Linked DNA regions of Homo sapiens: all the other regions are linked to region 1. The links are contacts of gene promoters, found by promoter capture Hi-C in blood cells and fetal thymus (Javierre and others, 2016). All regions are on one chromosome and are shown on one strand. Each heading gives the region's core, a stretch centred on a gene start or on the middle of the fragment in contact. The rest is flanking DNA. Distances are from core to core; before and after follow the strand shown.

Region 1 (2,618 bases), core at 34-2,533:
GACATTGTGCCAGGTTCTGGACTGACCCAGGAAGCTCACAACTTTGAGTGATACATGTCAATAATAAATACATGTATCTTCTGTTACTTAGCAGAAAAGAGGAAGCCCTAACAGCTTGCAGAAGTCATAGCAGTGAGGGAAGGAATGCTCTACAGAAGATGACAGATAAGATGAGTGATGTTATTAATAACTTGTGTATCGGCACAGAGACATTATGGTTTTTGTCATGTTTGGGGCACTACAAGTCACTGGACTACACACTGGATGCAGTTGAGAGAATAGTTCAGATGAGGTTGAAAACAAAAGCAAGGATTTTTTTAATAGTCAAAAGCTTCAAAATTATTTTAAGCAAGAATATGTATGTGAAACAAGTTTTTCTTGAGAAATTGCAGTATTTTCTTTAGAAATATATACTTGAATATATTTAAGTACTATAAACTGTGTTTCCAAAGTCAGCTATTGTGGAATTGGCTGGGTGCAGTGGCTCACGCGCCTGTAATCCCAGAACTTTGGGAGGCCAAGGCGGGTGGATCACCAGAGGTCAGGAGTTGGAGACCAGCCTGGCCAACATGGTGAAACCCCATGTCTACTAAAAATACAAAACTTAGCCTGGCGTCGTGGCAGGCGCCTGTAATCCCAGCTACTCCCGAGGCCTAGGTAGGAGAATGGCTTGAACAGGGGAAGTGGAGGTTGCAGCGAGCCAAGATGGTGCCACTGCACTCCAGCCTGGGCGACAGGGCGACTCTGTCTCAAAAAAAAAAGTCATCCATTGTGAATGAATGTACAAAACGCTTATTAATAAGTGTAATATTAAAATATATCTTTTCTGAAAGTTTTAGTGACAAAACAAATTAGTTACAGATTTAATGTTACCAAAATTCATGTACATTGAAAATTTCGGGACATTTTATACTGGTGGTGGTGGGGTGGCATCTTAGCTTGGGTTTAAATATCATTAGTAATCGGATAGCTCTGTAGATGATTATCAGTATATAAAGACATCGTGAGCAGTATTTAATAAGAAGAGTTGCTGAAGTGACTTTTGCAGGAGGATGAATGCTTTTTTTAAAAAAAAAGTTTATACGTGCCTCTTCGCTCTTCCAAAAAAAAAAGAGAGAAGAAAAAGAAGAATAAAACGAGAGACGAAGGTGGATAACACCTTTCTCTAGACCCCGGTGCCTCTCATTTCTCGGGCTGCAGGCGACGGCTGCTGGGCCTGCGCGGGGTGGAGCCGACGCTGACGCGCCCTGCGCCGCAAAGCATTGTGGGAGCTCGGGCCCGCTAGTGTCGTGGTTGGAGGCGAGGTGGGGCGGCCGTTTGTTTTCTCGTGGTCTCGAGCTCGCGCGCTCTCATCCCCTCCCCCGCGGCGTGCGGCGGGGCGGAGAAACGGCGGCGGCGGCGGCGGCATCGGCAGCAGTAGCAGAGGCTGTAGCATCGGACACCCTCCTCTCTCCCGCAATCCGGTTCCTCTTCCCCCTCCTTCTCACTGTTTGTTGTGTGTTTGATGTGTTAAAGCAGGAGCGAGAACCCGAGCAGCGCCATGAGCAACACTACCGTCGTCCCCAGCACTGCAGGTCCGGGCCCCAGCGGCGGGCCCGGTGGCGGAGGTGGTGGTGGCGGCGGAGGCGGCGGCACCGAGGTAATCCAGGTGACTAATGTCTCCCCGAGCGCTAGCTCTGAGCAGATGCGGACTCTCTTCGGTTTCCTAGGCAAGATCGACGAACTGCGCCTCTTCCCGCCGGAGTGAGTATCGTCCACCATCACTGTTCCTGCTAACGCCGCCTCAGCCTGGGCCTAACACACACAATTTCCTTAGGCCCCTGTCGCTGCTTCCCCGGGCCAGGCTGCTTGAGTGGCTGGTGGCTGGTGGATTTACTTAAGACGGTTGTGTTCCAGGCCTACAAAAAAATGCAGAGAGGCAGGGCCAGGGCTTTTTGGAATTAGGAAACACTGGCTGTTATTCTCGGGAAATTTTTTTTTTCCGCCTTAAATTGTGCCAACGTGGTCGTTTGGCTTTGGGGACTTAACGCAAGACTAACCGCAGTCTGTACGTCGTATATAGGTTAAATCCCTTTTTTAAAAAACTGAGTATTTGTTCTTTGCGTTCTTGGAAGAAAGGTAACAAAATTATTCATGCCTGTGTTAATTTGGTGTTAAACTTTGTAGGTTGTTCACTTATTGTTATTGCTGTTATGTGGTTCTGGCCCAGCAATATAATTCAAAGATCATATTCTTTTTGACAGACGCTTAGTTTAGTGTGAGCCTGATTACTTAATTTGTATAATGTCAAAAAACGGGTTATAAACCAGAGATTTTCCTTTGTTTGAATAATATACAGATTTGTGATATTTCACAGTTGTTCTTGAGAAGGATTTTTATAAATGTTGAAATTTGAATTAGAGTGTATGACTTTTTATCCTTTTTGTCTCACTTTTATTTTGAAAATTATTTCTATCGCAAGAATATTAAGTGGATGAATTGTAAAGAAAAAATAGTTCAAAGAAGCTAAGAAGTAAGATAAAGTGTACTACTAAAACAGACAATTGGAATAATAATAATAGTCTTGTGCTTTTTGGAAGACTTATTGGTGGAGAAGTGACAATTCAAATGTCATTATC
Region 2 (2,618 bases), core at 43-2,542, 6.7 Mb before region 1:
ATAGCAATTTTACAGTCAGATGTAGACTTCCTATTTAGATTATAAAATTTCTTGCCAGGCGCGGTGGCTCATGCCTATAATCCCAGCACTTTGGGAGGCCGAGACGTGCGGATCACCTGAGGTCAGGAGTTTGAGACCAGCCTGACCAACGTGGAGAAACCACGTCTCTACTAAAAATACAAAATTAGCTGGGGGTGGTGGTGCATGCCTGTAATCCCAGTTACTCGGGAGGCTGAGGCAGGAGAATCACTTGAACCCGGGAGGCAGAGGTTGCAGTGAGCCGAGATTACACCATTGCACTCCAGCCTGGGCAACAAGAGCCAAACTCCATCTCAAAAAATAATAATAATAATAAAATAAAATTTCTTTTTTTGAGATGCAGTCTTCCTCTGTCACCCAGGCTGGAGCACAGTGGCTCAATCTCGGCTTACTGCAGTCTCCGCCTCCCAGGTTCAAGCGATTCTCCTGCCTCAGCCTCCCAAGTAGCTGGGATTACAGGCGCAGGCCACCAGGCCCGGCTAATTTTTGTATTTTTAGTAGAGACAGGGTTTCACCATGTTGGCCAGGCTGGTCTTGAACTCCTGACCTCAGGTGACCTGCCCACCTCGGCCACCCAAAGTATAATTGTAAACCCAAATTACAGGTGTGAGCCACCACGCCAGTCTAGAATATAAAATTTCTTTGGAACTAAAAAGTTTGTATTGATGAACAAAAATCACCCTATACTATACTTGTGCACAATAATGTTCAATATAACTGACTCACTTATATCTGTATTTATTACCCTGATCTGGTTTCTATTTCCATGAGGATATTTCTTTAGTGAAATTGTTTTATACTTACTGGTCCTTATTACATTAAATTGTACAATATCCAGATTATCATTTTTTGATGCTGATTGGTGATGCGCAGATCTTGTGAATTTCTATAAAGATAGTTGGAACTATCCAATATAAGATTTTGTAATAGAATTTGGCAGTACAATTCAGGACAATTGTATCTTTTAAAATTATGTTAATTCCTTCTGTGGTGCTTAGGAAATTTATCATTGGTTCATTTTAGAAAATGTTATATTTCAGTATGCAGAGATTTATTTGCAAATTACCAAGTTACTTCTATTCAACTGTTCAAAATATCTGCAGTTGCTTTAACCATTTTATTTTAGAGTGATATGACATACATAAATATACAAAGCTTTTCTCACATGTACTTCTTTGCTCTTCATAGATAGAAGGATATGGTTAAAAATGAAGAGTAGTTTGACCATAGCATCTCTATAATAATCTTCTCTCACAGTATATTGACATTCTTGATTTTTAGCAGGACCATGCCTGCAAAGGGATACTTTATGTGCATATATTTGACATTTGGAACATGATTAATGTTTTTGAAAGCTTAGTACCTAGCAAAGATGAACATTTTAGATATCGTGCCTTATTGACATTGGTATTCTTAAATGAATGATTTTCTCATTTCATTAAGATATTTGTTTTTTAAATTCACACATTGTATGTATTTATGGGGTACAATTTGACATTTCAATACATTTATATGTTGTATAATGATCAAATCAAGGTAGTTAGTATATCCGTCGCTGCATGCATTTATCTTTTCTTTGTGGTGAGACCATTCAAAAGCCTCTCTTCTAGCTGTTTTGTAATATACAGTACCTTAATGCTAACTATAGTCACCATACTGTGCAATAGAATAGCAGAACCTATTTCCCACTATCTGATTGTAACTTTGTACCCATTGACCAACCTCTCCCCATCCTCCCCTACCCCCAGAGTACTTAGATAGTACTTAAGTTCCCCTTCCCAGTCTCTGGTAACCACTGATCTATTCTCTACTTCTAGGATATTAACTTTTTTTTTAAGATTCCACACAAGTGAGATACGCTGTATTTGTCTTCAGCGTCTAGCTTATTTCACTTAACATGTTGTCCTCCAGGTTCATCCATGTTGTTGCAGATGACAGGATTTCCTCCTTCTTTATGGCTGAATAGTCATTAAGGTATTTATTTAGCCAGAAAAAGTACTAATTTATACTTTTTGTGTTATCCTTTTGTCCCCCAAACAATTAAGTGGATGGTTGTTTTTAATCTTGTATTTCCTTTAGAAGCTTTTAGAAGCTCTTAAGTAATCAGATATTGTTAGTTATTTAAACCATGTAGGTTGAGAACCAAACTGTCAGAATAAGGAAAATCTATTTAATTCTGGTATTAATAATTAAAGAATGTTTAGGTGGTGGCATAAATATTTTTGTTTTTCAAAGTCAGGCCTATCTTGGTATCACTAGATAAGTCAACACCAAAGTAATGTACTGGTATATGTATAGTGTTTTGTAAATATCATAATACATAATGATTTGAAGAAAAAAATGCGCTTAAGTACAAATTCCAGGTGTTACAATCACAAATAATACTTGTCTTGTTGGGCAGCTCTTCAGCATGCAGGAAGAAATCCATCCCAAAAGACCATTAATAAGTATTGGACTCCTCAAACTGCCAAACTGAATTTTGATGATTTTTGTATAATTTTAAGGAAGGAAAAACCTACTTCAAAAGCAGAACTACTAAAATCATTTAAGCAATTAGATGTAAATGATGATGGCTGTAT
Region 3 (2,618 bases), core at 68-2,567, 5.6 Mb after region 1:
TCTCCTGGAACCGCCTTTGCAAAATTATAACTGAGGAAATTATGGCAGTGAAAGAAATCAGACCTAACGGATTCCATCTTGCTTCTAACTTTTGTTTTTGAGACTAGTCTCGCTCTGTCGCCCAGGGTGGAGTGCAGTGGCGTGATCTCTGCTCACTGCAAGCTCCGCCTCCCGGGTTTAAGCCATTCTCCTGCCTCAACCTCAGGAGTAGATGGGACTACAGGCGCCCACCCCCACGCCCGGCTAATTTTTTGTATTTGTAGTAGAGACGGGGTTTTAGCCAGGATGGTCTCGATCCCCTGACCTCGTGATCCGCCCGCCTTGGCCTCCCAAAGTGCTGGGATTACAGGCGTGAGCCACCGGCCGCTTCTAACTTTTAAGCTGTCCTTCTTCATTCCTGAGCCTAGGCTGAACCAATTTAGGGAGGAATTCAGTTTATGGTTTGACTCTGAAACAAAATTGATAATATCCCTTTCCCAAAAAGACCGCTTTTTTGCCTGGGGACCAGTCTGCCTTTGCAGAACCAACAGATTAGCTACAAGATTAGAAATTACAGTTTAGAGGTCATGCAGCCTCTGGCTCCAAGTTTCTGAACCTCCCCAAATTGCTCCTGGGGATAACATCACTATTGTAAAACCTAAGATAAGTTCTTGAGATATTTTGCAGACCCTGCTCTCCATGGATCAGTTGAAACCACCCAGATTGGTAATTTGGCTCAACCAGTTCTGCCATCCTACCCAGGAACAGAAAACAGCAAGAAAAACTCACGTCTACCCACTATGAGTCCATCTCCAACCTGACCCATCAGCACTCCCTACTTCCCAAGCCCCTAATCGCCGAATTATCTTTAAAAACTCTGAATACTGCTTGGGGAGACTCCATTGCAAGTCCCCTGTCTTGATAAATGGGCTATCGGTCAGCAGCAGGCAAAGTGAACCACAATATTGGGTGGTTACACTCCTAGGATCAAGCAATCCTGCTGTCCGGCTTCCCAAAGTGCTGGGATTACAGGCGTAAGCCACCGCGTCCAGCTAGAACAAATGATTTCTTAAAAGCAACTCAGATATTTAAATATTATTTAAAACTGTTTCTAGACAAATCGGAGTGACTATGGGACAAGCATATGGTCGCAGGACTTTGGACGCAGGCAGTGAGGACACCTATGAGCGATCAGTGGGGTCCTACGGCAGCCGTGGAACTGCTCTGCCTTGCAGGCGAAAGTGTGGTCAGCTATATCGGAGCGCGATGGGGGCCTGAGAGGCGCATCTGCGCAGGCGCCCGGCTCCTAAGTCTACCCAGGAACTGACCCTGCTCTCTCCTTTCCCTGTTAGACATGGTAAGTGTGAGTTTAGCGCTGCTGTCCGGATGGGTTGGTAGCAGACAGGGTGGAGTAGGGTTAAGCACACTGGTCACCTTAGGATTGGTTTCCTGGTGCTGGAGAATGGTTAGGACACAGGCCTTGGAAGGTTTTTTGAGTGTGAAATATTACTCAGCGTTTTCTGCAGACCTCGCGGGCAATGCCGCTTCTAATTTTATCCAGGCCTTCTTCTGTAGGGAGGGCCTGTTAAGAGTTGAGCAGCCCGATTTCTGAACCCCTCTAAAAAGCTGTGGCTGATTGGTGGCTTTTTTTTTTCTTGGAGAGGGGGTGTCAAAGATTTCTTTAAAATCGTTAGTGATGTGGTCTCGCTTTAAGATTTTTAATGGGATCAGAAGAAAATTCGGTACTTAATCACTTCCGGTAATCTTCATGACCTGTTATAGTGACTGCAGTGTACTCTCAATGAGGAAGATATAGATACGAAAAGAACTAGAGCCGCATCACATGGGGACTTCTGCAAATACAGAGACTCGGATTAAAGGTGGAGAAGATGGAGCTAAAGGAACTGCTTATTTAATACATTTGAACAACTTTTGGGGTACTTAGAAGGTGCTTTGAAACCTGCATTTGATTAAGCAAGAATTCGCTTGCAAGTTAAGGGTTAGATTTTTTTATTTTTTAAAAATATGCTTTCTGCCACATGTAAACCGTAAGTTGTCCTGAAATGATAAGCTTTGATATTCTATGGTGTTTATTTTTTACTTATCTTTTTGAATGAAAAGTGAACAACAAGAAATGCTGGTGGTAATTTTTTGGGTCAATGATGAGTTGGCATGTATTCTGAATCTAAAGTTGATTATTACTACTTTAGCTCTAGAATTACTCTGAGACCTGAAAATTACCTGAATCGTGACTAAGACGAAGCCTGAATGATTTAAGTTCTTTTTTGTTGGATACAATTTGTTGTTGTTGTTGTTGTTTTGGTTTTGTTTTTGAGTCGGTCTCCGGTCGCCCAGGATGGAGTGCAGTGACACAACCTCAGTTCACTGCAGCCTTAATTTCCCTGGCTCAAGCGATCTTCTACCTCAGCCTCCCTAGTTAGTTACAATTTTTAAATGGAACGTTTTCCTATTACAAGATGAAATCAAGTGAAAATTGAGATGTATGTTGAATCTATGCTGTGGGGCAGAAGAACGTTGTAGAGGTAAACATTGATGAGATTACCACTTTATTTTGAAAGGGCACTCCACAGAAGGATGTTATTATCAAGTCAGATGCACCGGACACTTTGTTATTGGAG

Evidence for each region. The method cuts DNA at HindIII sites, captures the fragments that hold promoters and counts their contacts. A CHiCAGO score of 5 or more calls a contact.
Region 2: a contact is called between a fragment that was not itself captured here and the fragment with the promoter of SRSF11 in region 1, in 1 of 17 cell types (total CD8 T cells). The highest score is 5.2, in total CD8 T cells.
Region 3: the fragment with the promoter of RABGGTB here is called in contact with the fragment with the promoter of SRSF11 in region 1 in 9 of 17 cell types (total CD4 T cells, naive CD4 T cells, non-activated CD4 T cells and 6 more); the score reaches 19.0 in total CD4 T cells.

Annotation. Positions count from the first base shown.
Region 1 is chr1:70,220,097-70,222,714 of GRCh38, forward strand. It overlaps SRSF11 (serine and arginine rich splicing factor 11), which reads left to right and starts at 1,284. Exons shown (of 12, transcript NM_001350605.2): 1 at 1,284-1,743. The coding sequence starts at 1,541. RefSeq lists an enhancer at 1,178-1,723 and a silencer at 1,619-1,668. The HindIII fragment of the contact is 2,724 bases long and covers 330-2,618 here.
Region 2 is chr1:63,529,380-63,531,997 of GRCh38, forward strand. It overlaps EFCAB7 (EF-hand calcium binding domain 7), which reads left to right. Exons shown (of 14, transcript NM_032437.4): 3 at 2,441-2,618. It also overlaps the pseudogene RN7SL488P. Among named protein-coding and RNA genes, the nearest start is that of EFCAB7, 7.2 kb to the left of the region's middle. The HindIII fragment of the contact is 200 bases long and covers 1,193-1,392 here.
Region 3 is chr1:75,784,939-75,787,556 of GRCh38, forward strand. RABGGTB (Rab geranylgeranyltransferase subunit beta) reads left to right here and starts at 1,318. Exons shown (of 9, transcript NM_004582.4): 1 at 1,318-1,336; 2 at 2,559-2,618. The coding sequence starts at 1,334. SNORD45C (small nucleolar RNA, C/D box 45C) reads left to right here and starts at 2,134; the gene lies at 2,134-2,211. RefSeq lists enhancers at 1-119, 1,060-1,289 and a silencer at 1,350-1,409. The HindIII fragment of the contact is 7,492 bases long and covers 1-2,048 here.